2 separate regions of the Homo sapiens genome follow, and region 1 is linked to region 2. The links are contacts of gene promoters, found by promoter capture Hi-C in human tissues and cell types (Jung and others, 2019). All regions are on one chromosome and are shown on one strand. The core of a region is centred on a gene start or on the middle of the fragment in contact, and the rest is flanking DNA. Distances in the headings are between cores, read along the strand shown.

Evidence for each region. Contacts are between HindIII fragments. The study calls those that stand out against the background at their distance.
Region 1: a contact is called between a fragment that was not itself captured here and the fragment with the promoter of VDAC3 in region 2, in 2 of the 25 tissues and cell types used here (IMR-90 fibroblasts and aorta).

What each region holds. Positions count from the first base shown.
Region 1 is chr8:42,566,753-42,573,223 of GRCh38, forward strand. No RefSeq gene overlaps it. Among named protein-coding and RNA genes, the nearest start is that of SMIM19, 28 kb to the left of the region's middle. The HindIII fragment of the contact is 4,772 bases long and covers 1-4,040 here.
Region 2 is chr8:42,390,616-42,397,308 of GRCh38, forward strand. It overlaps VDAC3 (voltage dependent anion channel 3), which reads left to right and starts at 1,265. Exons shown (of 10, transcript NM_005662.7): 1 at 1,265-1,313; 2 at 3,230-3,269; 3 at 3,595-3,663; 4 at 4,469-4,518. The coding sequence starts at 3,597. It also overlaps a transcript of DKK4 not described here. RefSeq lists enhancers at 769-1,269, 1,270-1,770 and a silencer at 1,012-1,541. The HindIII fragment of the contact is 12,637 bases long and covers 1-2,385 here.

The DNA of each region.
Region 1 (6,471 bases), core at 405-2,904, 180 kb after region 2:
GGAATGTCAGATCAGATTTAGTGGCTCTTACTGATGCATTCTCAAAAACCTGCACCCTTGCCTGTCCTCCTAGGCTGCAAAGAGGACTGAGAAAAATCGGATTTGGTGGCCCTTACCAATGCATTCTTGAAAACCTGTTAGAGTCCTAAGCATTCTCCTGTTAGTATTGGGACTTTACCTGTGTCCCATAAAGATGTTATCCCCCAAAAATGAAGTGGAGGGCCATACCCTGAGAGAGGGAAGGGATCTCCAGAGTTGGAAGGGTGATGCCTTTTGTCCTCACGTATATGAATAGGAAGGATACAATTTCTGAGGCTCCCCACATCCTAGCTTCAGGAATAGCTTTTTTTAGGCCTGCTAGTCTGAGGAGGGATCCTAAAATTCCAGATAAGATAGTCCCCCCCCGCCAACAGGGCTTTGGGCAAAAATTATATCTTTCTGATTGGTGAGACTGGGTGCCTAAAGAAGGTAACAGAGTCCTGGAGTTTATACTAGAAATAATTCTTATAGGAGAAACTAGAAAAGCACCAGAGACAGGGAGTGGTTTTTAGAAGTGGGACTAGCCTTGGAGAAGAGAGGCGAGAGGAAGTTTGTCTGACAGGCATTAGGACCCAGGAGGCAAGGGTCAGGATAGATAGGATAGATGGGTGAGTCTCGCTTGGGCGATGTGACTTTGAGAGTTCCACTCATGGCTGCAGGGTCAAACAACTTGCTGTCAGGACCCTAGGAACTGAATGGCTTTCCTCTCTGTTGACCCTAGGCTCAGCCCAGAAGTACAGGAAAAGCAGAAGCTGGTTCCAGGCAAACCAACACTCCCAACTCCAAAGAATCAGGGGTTGTTAGAGAGCCCTTTCCCAGAAAGCCTGACACCTGTGTCTTTAGTCTGGCGGCCACACTAGCCACTTTTAACTGGCCAACAGGTGTCCAGTATTTAGCCCCCGAATTCTAAGGAAAAATAGGACAGAATAGCAAGCGAAAGGGGTCTGATGGTACTCACCGCTTAGCGATAGGCAATAGTCCCTTCGTGATCGCCAAAATGTGTCCAGTATTGATTCCTTCTGGTGGGTTCCTGGCCTTGCTGACTTCAAGAATGAAGCTGCGGACCCTCATGGTGAGTGTCACAGTTCTTAAAGATGGTGTGTCTGGAGTTTTTTCCTTCAGTTGTTCAGATGTGTCGAGTTTCTTCCTTCCAGTGCGTTTGTGGTCTCACTGACTTCAGGAGTGAAGCTGCAGACCTTCCCAGTGAGCGTTACAGCTTTTAAAGGTGGCACATCCAGAGTTGTTTGTTCCTCCCAGTAGTTTCGTGGTCTCACTGACTTCAGGAGTGAAGCCACAGACCTTTGCAGTGAGTGTTACAGCTCTTAAAGGTAATGCAGACCCAAAGAGTGAGCAGCAGCAAGATTTATTGTGAAGAGCAAAAGAACAAAGCTTCCACAGCATGAAAGGGGACCCAAGCAGGTTGCCACTGCTGGCTCGGGTGGCCAGTTTTTATTCCCTTATTTGGCCCCACCCACATCGTGCTGATTGGTCCATTTTACAGGGCGCTGATTGGTCTATTTTACAGAGTGCTGATTGGTGCATTTACAAACCTTTAGCTAGACACACAGTGCTGATTGGTGGGTTTACAATCCTTTAGCTAGACAAAAAAGTTCTCCAAGTCCCCACCTGACCCAGAAGCCCAGCTGGCTTCACCTCTCAAGAGGACAGCAGATAATAATCTTTTTTTTTTTTTTTTTTTGATGGAGTCTCACTGTCTCACCCAGGCTGGAGTGCAGTGGTGCAATCTCGGCTAACTGCAACCTCTGCCTCCCAGGTTCAAGCAGTTCTCTGCCTCAGCCTCCCGAGTAGCTGGGATTACCATCACCTGCCAGCATGCCTGGCTAATTTTTGTGTTTTTAGTAGAGATGGGGGTTCAGGCTGGTCCTGAACTCCTGACCTTGTGATCCACCTGCCTTGGCCTCCTAAAGTGCTGGGATTACAGTCGTGAGCCACCGCACCCGGCCAGCAGATAATAATCTTTTGGTCACCACCTTAGGCATGAATAAAAGTGAACGTGTGAGTGACCCTTCCAGTCCTGAACTTTTTCAGTGTTGAGAAATGTGAAGATTAGATAGGGAAAAAATGTTTGCCCAGGGGCAAATGGGAGTGTTACAAAGGCAGGTATATAAAAAGATGGTTTCTGACAAACATATGGTAAAATACTATATATACGAATGTTTTTAACTTAGAACTGGTTTTAGAAAAACACACACACAAATAAAACTTTATTTCCTTTCCTCTCATGTCAAGTTTTTCCTTGATCCACTGTAGTACCTTGAGATAGTGAAAGGTGAAGCCAGCTGTACTTCCTGGGTCGAGTGGGGACTTGGAGAACTTTTCTGTCTAGCTAGAGGATTGTAAATGCACCAATCAGTGCTCTGTGTCTAGATAAAGGATTGTAAATGGACCAATCAGTACTCTGTAAAATGGACCAATCAGTACTCTGTAAAATGGACCAATCAGCAGGATGTGGGCGGGGCCAGATAAGGAAAGAAAAGCTGGCCACCCGAGCCATCAGCGGCAACCGACTCGGGTCCCCTTCCACACTGTGAAAGCTTTGTTCTTTTGCTCCTCACAATAAGTCTTGCTGCTGCTCACTCTTTGGGTCCGCACCATCTTTAAGAGCTGTAACACCACAAAGGTCTGCAGCTTCATTCTTGAAGTCAGCGAGACCTAGAACTCACTGGAAGGAATAAATTCCGGACACAATAGTAGGTGTTTAACAAATATTTACTTAATCAAATCAGGTTGAATCCAGTGCCATGCTGTCTCAGAAAGCAGCAGGTCTATGGAATAACTTCATCCTCATAGCTTCTTCCCCTCAGCACAAAAGAGAGGAACAGGGATTCTACCATTCTTGCAGCTCTTTGCTGGCAGTCCAGTGCATGTTGTGAAAGTTAGTAAAGCTCCACAACTTATGCTATTAATACCCTCCAAAAAGCAGAATGGATTTTCCCCTCAAAAAGGAAGAAAGGATTTTCCCCTCAAAACACTCCAGAGCACAGTGTTCTAGATAATTTTCAGGTTTTGTTTTTGTTTTGAGATAGAGTCTTGCCACGTTGCCCAGGCTGAAGTGCAGTGGCATGATCTCGGCTCACTACAACCTCCACTTCCTGAGTTCAAGCGATTCTCCTGCCTCAGCCTTCCTAGTAGCTGGGATCACAGGTGCCTTCCACCATGCCCAGCTAATTTTTTGTATTTTTAGTAGAGATGGGTTTTCACCATGTTGGCCAAGCTGGTCTTGAACTGTCAACCTCAGGTGATCCACCCGCCTTGGCCTCCCAAAGCGCAGGGATTACAGGTGTGAGTCACTGCACCCAGCGAGGAGTTAAAATTTTTAAAAAATATATATAATTATTCTTTGAAAGTGTTCAGTAACAAACTTTCCATTTATCATGCCAATGAAAGTGGTTACATGGAAAAACTGCAAAAGCAAACAATCCAAGTTACACATTTGCTTTTCCAAATTAGTTTGCTATACCAGCATTTTAATTGGTTTGCCATCTCTAAGCTCCTACAATTAATGATCATTCCAGCAAACACAAATCCATTTGCATTCTAAAGGGAAGGAACTATAAAGGGGTTGCAAGTGACCTACAAACTTCCCAGTTGGTATTTGGGCAATCTTGGGTGGACCAATCACATGTTTAACCCTATCTTATGTCCCATTTTAAGACTGACAAAAACCAAGGCCGGGTGCAGTGGCTCACGCCTGTAATCCCAGCACTTTGGGAGGCCAAGGCAGGTGGATCACAAGGTCAGGAGATTGAGACCAGCCTGGCCAACATGGTGAAACCCCATCTCTACTAAAAATACAAAAATTAGCTGGGTGTGGCAGGAGAATCGCTTGAACCGGGGAGGCAGGTGTTGCAGTGAGCCAAGATCCTGCCACTGCACTCCAGCCTGGCGACAGAGCGAGACTCCATCTCCAAATTAAAAAAAGAAAGGAAAAAAAAGAAAGATAAGAGTAGTCATGGTGCAGGTGATTTTATTACACATTAACTTTTTCCATTTTTATATTCAGACTTAGCAAATTACCACAGTAGTCCAAGTGTCACAACATCATGTTTTGAATTTATTTGAGTCACCATCTTCCACAGTTTATAGTATTTATTTATTTATTTATTTTTGAGACAGAGTCTCACTCTATTGCCTAGGCTAGAGTGCAATGGTGTGATCTCGTCTCACTGAAAACTTCGCCTCCTAAATTCAAGCTGTTCTCTGCCTCAGCCTCCCGAGTAGCTGGGATTACAGGTGCCCACCACCATGTCTGGCTAATTTTTGTATTTTTAGTACAGATAGGGTTTCACTATGTTGGCCAGGCTGGTCTTGAACTCCTGACCTTGTGATTAACCCGCCTCAGCCTCCCAAAGTGCTGGGATTATAGGTGTGAACCACCACGCCTGGCCCATTTTTTTTTTTTAAGATAAAGTCTGGGTCTGTCACCCAGGCTGAAATGCAGTGGCATGATCCTAGCTCACTGCAGCCTCGACCTCCTGGGCTCAAGCAGTCATCCCACCTCAGCCTCCTGAGTAGCTGGAACTACAGATTTGTGCCATCATGCCTGGCTAATTTTTTTTTTTTTTTTTTTTTTGAGATGGGGTCTTGCTCTGTTGCTCAGGCTGGTCTTAAACTCCTGGCCTCAAGTGATCCTCCAGCCTCCCAGAGTGTTGGGATGATAGGCGTACACCACCACACCCTGCCCACAGCTTATAGTTCTTAAGCAAAGTCTAACATCCCATTACTGTCTTACATATCAATAAAACATTGATAATCAAACATTGTGTATTGGAAACTGACTGCTACTGAGGAAATATGTCAACAGCCCAGATCACTGAAGAAGGTGCCAGCCTGGCTAATCACAGATAAACTTTACACCCCCTTTTGAGCAGTCAGGGCTTTTATCAGCAAATCTTTCTGGGAAAGGATTTGCTCCCTTTCTTCTTGGAAACTTTTGATCATCAGAGTCAGCTCTCTCTTTTCATCTTTCAGACTTGTGATGTTTTCCACAGAGGACTGGAGACTGGGTTTTAGACATGCAAGTTCCAAGGACAGATTTTCATTTATCTACAAATTATAAATGACTAAAAAGTGGTTGAAAAGTTAATTACTCAGAATTTGCTTATTTAATTGCATTCTAACTTTACTTGAAGTTCTGGATGTTTTTGGCTCCTTCTAAGCTGCCTTATTTAATGGCCTGTGGTCCGTTGCCACGGCAAAACAGAATTAACAATTCTTACTTATGCAAACTTAATACTTGTCAAATATACGCTTTCTTTGTTAAAAAAAAAAAAAAAAGACCTTGGCAAATCTAGTAGGCTTCAAAAGGATTATAAATTTTTAGAAACCTACTCCTTAATTATAGCCGTTTAGAAATTTGAGATGAACACATTAACAACATATGACAAATGTAGACACAGTTCTGCTCACTAACAGCTTTGACTGAAGCTTGACATTTGCTTTTTCAAGCTGTTTGAAAGTAATTTTAGCTCCTAACTATTCTGAATGGAGGGAAGTCACTTCATGGTCCAAATAATCTTTTTCCTTCTGAACTCTATTATTACTTGTCGTTATTGGCCAGTTGAAAGGATCAAGTTTATCTTTCTCCTAAGTAATTAAAATAAAATTTGACTTTTGTTCAGTTTGTATTGTTATATTTAGTGCAATCAAAGGCAACTCTATGTTTCTGTGTATTATAGGACAAGTTTGAAAGCAACAATGTAGGTAGAAAATGAGTTAGGTAACGACTCAGTTAATAGAACACAGGACTAGAAACAGTTCCAGCATATTCCAATCTATGCTGTATCTGTTTGAATTTGAGGATATTATTATTGTTGTTGTTGTTGTTTTTGAGATGGAGTCTTGCTCTGTCGCCCAGGCTGGAGTGCCGTGGCGCGATCTCAGCTCACTGCAAGCTCCGCCTCCCGGGTTCAGGCCATTCTCCTGCCTCAGTCTCCTGAGTAGCTGGGACTATAGGTGCCCGCCACCATGCCCGGCTAATTTTTTGTATTTTTAGTAGAGACGGGGTTTCACCGTGTTATCCAGGATGGTCTAGATCTCCTGACCTTGTGATCTGCCCACCTCGGCCTCCCAAAGTGTTGGGATTACAGGCGTGAGCCACCGCGCCCGGCCGAATTTGAGCATATTATTAACCTTGGTAGGCTTCACTTTGTTCATCTGCTAAGAATAAGACTTCCTTTACCCTAGAATGTTCATTCTAAGTGATACACAATTTAAGCCCCTTGGAAGACAATGTAAAATCCTTTGTTATTATTTAATGTAGTTTTTAATAGGTTACCAACGTATATACTCAAGAGTCTGAAAGAGTAAAATCAGGTATGCATGGAGTCTCTAATCCCTCCAGGCTATGAGAGTTTGTATTTTCTAGCTTTCCCTGCCGTCCCAGGTAAAGGTACTGGCGAATGAAATCTT
Region 2 (6,693 bases), core at 15-2,514:
GCCTCCCAAAGTGCTGGGATTACAGGCTGCTTCCTTTAACCTAGAGCAGTTCACTAGCCTTTTTCCTAATCTTTCATGAAACTGACATTTTTGAAGACTGGGCAGTTGTCTTGCAGGTCTCTCAGTTTGGATTTGCCTGATTGTTTCGTCCTGAAGAGAGGCAAATTACACACTTTTACAAGAATATTATCTCTGTGTCCCTCTCTGTGCCTCACACCAGGGGCATATGTCAGTCCCTACCATCCCCCGTTTGATCAGTCTCTTTGATGTGAAGGTACCCTTTTCTCTTTAGTGAGTAATCTATGGGGGTGATACTTTGAAACCATATGAACATCCTCAACGGTCCACTGATCATTTCAGCCTGAATCAATTATTATCATGGTGGTTCCAAGACGATGATTTTCTATTTCTGTCATCTATTCTACCTTTATTAGTTGGTCTTCTCCTCTACAGAAGAGCTTTTTCTCCTCCACATCCTCTGCCCCTTTGAATTATCATCTCTCACTACTTGTGGGATCTTGAATCAATCACTTACTCCCTGGGGACCTGTGTATTCTCATCCTTAAGACGAGATGACCTAAGAGTGACACTCTTGAAGTCTGGTCAGTCTGAAATGAAATTCCCATAAGAGGCTGGGCGTGGGCTCAGGCCTGTGATCCCAGCACTCTGGTAGGCGCAGGCGGGCGGATCACTTATGCCGTGGAGTTCGAGACCAGCCTGGAAACATAGGGAGATTCCCGTCTTTACCAAAAAAAAAAAAAAAAAAAAATTAAATTAGCCGGGCGTGGTGGCGCGCTTCTGTGGACCCTCCTACTCAGGAGGCTTAGGCAGGAGGACGGCTTGAGCCCAGGAGGTCGAGGCTCCAGTGAGCCAAGATCGCGCCACTACACTCCGGCCTGCGGCATGCCTCAAACCTGGGGTCCGGCACCCTGCGGCCTTTTCGCGGCCGCACCCATGGCAACAGTTAACTAGCAACCTCGCGCATTCTCGCGAGAATGAGTCCCCTCAAGGGCACAGGTGCGGTCCCCAGCCTCTTGGGCCCCCAGTCAACCTCACTGTCCACACCGAGCCCTCCTGCGCACGCGCGCTGCGGAGCCGGACAGTTGGTGGTGCTGGCTTGGCCCGGCTGTTCGTCTCCGCGCCTTGCTCCGAAGCGCGCGACCGTGGCGCGACACGCCGGCGCACAGGCGCTCTCGGGGAGGGGCGGCGCGCAGGCGCGGCTGGGGGTGCGAGGCTGCGCAGGCGCGGACGGCGTTGGTTTGAAGACCTTCAGCGTTGCCCTGGCGGAGCAGAGACAGGCCCTCGGGGTGGAGGTGAGGAGAGCTGAGGCCGCGCGGGCTCCAGTCCCGGAGAGCGGTGGGCCGCGGCCGAGCAGAGCGCCAGGCGGGAGGCGGGCCTAACGGAGGCTCTGTGGGCAGGGAGCAGGCTACCGGGGCGCGGGGGGCCGGGGCCGCTCGCTCCCGCCGGGACCCGCCCGGGCCACCTCAGGCGATGGAGCCGCAGCACGGCGGGGCAAGTGGCCTCCGGGCGCGGGCAGCGACCTATCCCGCCGGCGTGTGGACCGCACTTTCCTCCCAGGGGTCAGCTAGAAAGGAGATCGGTTCTAGGGAAGTTGGATCCTCGAACCCCACACCCATCTCCCGCCCGCCCCTGCCCCCTCCTTACGGCCGAGGGAGGGTGCCCTGCGTGCAATTCAAAACGGAGAAGCGAGGAACGAAAAGGGCTCTGTACTGGCTGTCAAGTTAGTGGCTTTGTAAAGCAGTAGCAACCGGCTTAACGCCTTTCCCCGTCTGCGTCTCCTGCAGCCTCTGTGCAGTGTGCACATCTATGGGCAGGTGCATTCTGTAGAGCTGGTGGAGACGTGTGGTTGTAGCTTTACTCTCGAGGAACATGAAGTTTCTGTTGTTCTCGATTTTTGCTTGATCATACTAGCAGTGCATTTCCCATCAGAGTCATAGGCCTGAAAAAGTCAGCTTGAACTAGGCAGAATTGAGGTCAGTTAGTATACTAAACCAGCTACGTGACTTTTGCATAGTATCTCGTACTGGTTTTGAAAAATAACAAAACAAAATGCTGAAATATTGTAAATAGTCCCTAGACGTATATATAGTGCTTCTAAACATTTAAGTGTATCTTTTCTCGGCAGTATGAAAAACCAGACTGTAAAGCTTTAACATTTCTATTTCAATATATACTGCCTGCATTTCTATACTTACTTCCCAAATTACAGACTTCTGGCAAAATTTCAACAAATATCAACATCAGTTGTAATCATAAAGAGTAATATCAAATTGCAATTGGGATAATATAAAAAGCCTAGAATTGATCACTTTAGTACAAGGGATTGAATTGTAAAATAATCGTTCTGTAAGTGAATTATGAAACCTGGTAGCTTAGAGCAAAGTTTTACTATGGAATGAGTCAGTACATTTATACTACCGTTTCCTCTTTAATTTTTTTTTCTTTTTAGTTTTTTATACTAGTCTCTTTATATCATAGTGTCTGTCATATTTGACAGGTTTATGTTAAGGAACAAAACTTAAATGCATTCCCATTTAAGTGCATCATATGTATATGTTTGGTATGATGGGGTAGGCAGAAGCTTAGCAGAAGTCTGGATTAAGAGCTGGGCTATATATAAATAAATATGAGCTTAAATGTGTAGATCATTCAGGCGTAGCAATTGCAAGGGCTAGCTGGTACTCTGGATTTTTCTGACATATGGGCTAATGGCACTGCTAGAGGTGGCTCTGTAATTGGTTAGACATAGCTTTTGAGTCTGCGAGAGGAATACAGAAGAACCTGCTGCAGAAAGATTTCCCATGATACAAAGAGGGCAAAGGAATGAGATAATCAGCAGTGTTGATAGCTCTGAGAATTTGATATGAGGGTCATATTACCAGTAGCAAAGCTGGGCAGATTTTTAGTAGGCAAGATGAAAAATCAAGGCACCTGAGGTTTTTGAAGGCTTTAACTTCAGAGTTTACACTAACTTTTGGTAAGCAGGTTGCTGCAGGTAGAATCTGTCATATTTCTGGTTAATGGGTAAAATTATAGCACTTTAAGAAGAGCTTTGAGAGAAGATATATTCTAGATGAATACACTTCAATTCGTATGGTAAATTCTTATTTTAAGAACTGAATTTCAGAGGAGAAAAATGTTAACCCTGAGGATTTTGATTGCATCTTTTAACAGTTTCTTTAAAAATTTCCATTGTTGTCTTATACAGGTCTTTGGTTTCATAAGAGCCTGAGAGAGATTTTTCTAAGGTAAATTTTGCATATATTTTTAAAAGAAGTCCAGTTTAACATAGCATCTTTTTCATCCTGTAAGAACTTACTTTTCTTTGAAATGCAATCAGAAAGATGACCTCTGAATCTCACGGGAAAACTGTTTTATTCTCAGTATTCTGGAAAGGTCTGTTTTTTAAGGAGCAGACTGCTGTCTCATACCTTTGATTGCATTAAAGCATTAATGATACACAGGAAGAGAAAACTGTATACCCCTTCTCACAGGATTAAACAGCAGAAGAACTGTGGGTGAATAAATACTAAATGGTTATTTTTATTCCTTTGCCCTGTTTTTCTTTATAAGATATGTGTAACACACCAACGTACTGTGACCTAGGAAAGGCTGCTAAGGATGTCTTCAACAAAGGATATGGTAAGTATGCTATTGTAACTTTCCAGTTTGGGGTAAAGGTTAGTGTTGAATGCCTACTGTGTGTAAATACTGTGTTAGTAAAATAAGGGTAAGTCAGCATTATTCCACTTCACAAGATTTAAGGGGATAACTATTAACAGGCTATTAGACCTCATTCTTTAGAGGCAGAACCCCTTACAAGCATTAAAAGCAATTATATACATATACAGATGCATATACATGTCCATATTTAATGTTATCTGGAATGTAGAATAATATATATAACATTTATGTCTCTTTGTCTGGCCCTGAGGACAATTAAATTAGGGGGTAGAACTTTTCCTCCCTCCAAACAGTGGCATTGTTTTTATGAAAGTGACAACATAACTTTTGACTTCTTTGGAGTAATGTATATTCTGATCCTAAATAAATATTTTTTAGGTTTTAAAATTTAACTTAAATTTATGTGCTGTACATATTTGATTTTTTCTTATTAACTAGTAATGTTAACTATATTTTAAACGATATATATAGCAGCACACTATTTTCAGCAATTTTGATTCTTGGAATAGTGCATATTCCTTTCATTTATTTTTTTCTTTAACTTACATTTTAAAAGTATATCTTTATTCATTTTGAGTGCTTGAAAATTATACTGCATTTATTTGGTTATAATTCAGTTTCTTGAGGAACTCTCACCCAATGAAAATACTATGCATTTTTCATATGGAAGGTACTATAGGCTATTTCATAATTTCTGAGTTGCAAAAACTAGTGAATGTCACATTTTGTACATTACTGTGTTTTTGTGTGTGTGTGTGTATAGGCTTTGGCATGGTCAAGATAGACCTGAAAACCAAGTCTTGTAGTGGAGTGGTGAGTATCTAATATATTTTTAATGAATGTAACATAATTAACTTAAAGGAATCTGTTTAAAATCATGACAGTCTAGTTACTTGAACCAGCACCATGCTGTCTTCCCCACAGCTTTGTCCTCTCAGATTTTAAACAGCATTCTTAGCCAATTAAAATAAACAACCAAGTTGAATTTTTGAAGAGACCTTTTGTGTTTCTCAGAGTATACTACAGCTTTCACTCAGAAGATGTAGAATATATATTTTTTGACCCATGTCATATGTTTATACTTTCATGAATATGTATATGGGCACCAAAAACCTCACTTCCATGATAATGGGTTCATGGAAATTTTATTACCCTTTTACAAAAACAAATTAACTTTACTCTGCCCCTTCATGATTAGTCGAAACAAAATATGTAAATAAAATGTATTTCTGCACGTATGCATGTACATTATTCTACAGTTTTTAACTGATGTTTATAAAGTTTTTTTTATTGGAAGTAAAGACTACAGTAAAGGCTATGTTGGCATATTTTCAAAGTATCATTAACAATAGCTTTTGGCTGGGTGCAGCGGCTCACACCTGTAATCCCAGCACTTTGGGAGGCCGAGGTGGGCGGGTCATGAGGTCAGGAGTTCGAGACCAGCCTGGTCAACATTCTGAAACCCCGTCTCTACTAAAAATATACCAAAAATTAGCTGGGTGTGGTGGCACGCACATAGTCCCAGCTACTCGGGAGGCTGAGGCGGGAGAATCTCTTGAACCTGGGAGGTGGAGGTTTCAGTGAGCCGAGACCAAGCCATTGCACTCCAGCCTGGGTGACAGAGTGAGACTTTGTCTTAAAAAAAAAAAAAAAAAGGCCAGGTGCGGTGGCTCACGCCTGTGATCCCAGCACTTTGGGAGGCCAAGGCGGGCGGATCACGAGGTCAGGAGATTGAGACCATCCTGGCTAATATGGTGAAACCCCGTCTCTACTAAAAATACAAAAAAATTAGCCAGACCTGATGACGGGTGCCTGTAGTCCTGGCTACTTGGGAGGCTGAGGCAGGAGAATGGCATGAACCCAGGAGGCAGAGGTTGCAGTGAGCAGAGATCGTGCCACTGTACTCCATCCAGCCTGGGCAACAGTGCAAGACTCCGTCTCAGAAAAAATTGCTTTTATTTAATAAATCTCAGCAAGTAGGTTAAGTTTTAATTTACCTTACTCTGATTTCTCCTCATTGGCTGCATCGTTTTTGGTATTTATCCATTCAAACCCATGAAAATTTTATTTCTGAATGTATAATTAGAAGGACAAAGACATGTGGAATTCTAATGATACTGTGTATAATCATGGTTTGTGACCATCATTCTTTCCCTGGGTTTCTCTGGAGTAAATAAATATATATGCACCTCCCTTACTAAGATGGGCACGCTGTGTATATAGTTCTGTTAAAATAGAAGAATCATTCTCATTTTGTGTAGGTTCCAGAATTTGCTCATTAGGTTTGTGTTGCAAAAATTATCAACTAAAATTTTATCTCCCTTTCATGCTGCTGTTGTGTGGTAATATTCATTCAGATGGTAAGAAAAAAAAGCTTATTCGTATGCTTGTTTTTATGGCTGCTTTTGGTTTCTGGTATTGATTTAGGATAAATTTCAATCATTGTTCCAAATTTCTTAGATTGTGTCTTGATATTTTTCTCATATGCTATCTACTTAACAGTAACATTTTTGTTTGTTTTGTTGCTTACTAAGCATTTAATGTAGAGCTATATGCATGTTATATGCATGTTATAAATGTGTTTTGCACTTGTTTGACCAAATTATGAAATTAGACACAAACTGAACTGTGAATCGTGAGCCTGGAACTCAACTTAGAACAATTCTAGCCTTTTTTTCTGAGATTTGTACCTGTGGCATTTTAGATTCGTGACAGACCTTCAAACTAAGAATTGATGCTGACAAGGGAGAAATGTAGACTACCCCTCTACCTTAATTTTGTGCATAAGGTTTTTCTAGCACCAAAATTAAGATTTGCATTTGTTATACTTGTCAAGTTTGTGAAAAGTAAATGTAAAAAATAAAACACTAGATAGTTGGATCTACTAAAAGAAAAATGATTGTCACGTTAAAATAATTATGTGAACAGTTAAACATGATTAACATGTTATCATTTTTTTTTTACTAAGGCCTTCCCCTAAATGTGCAG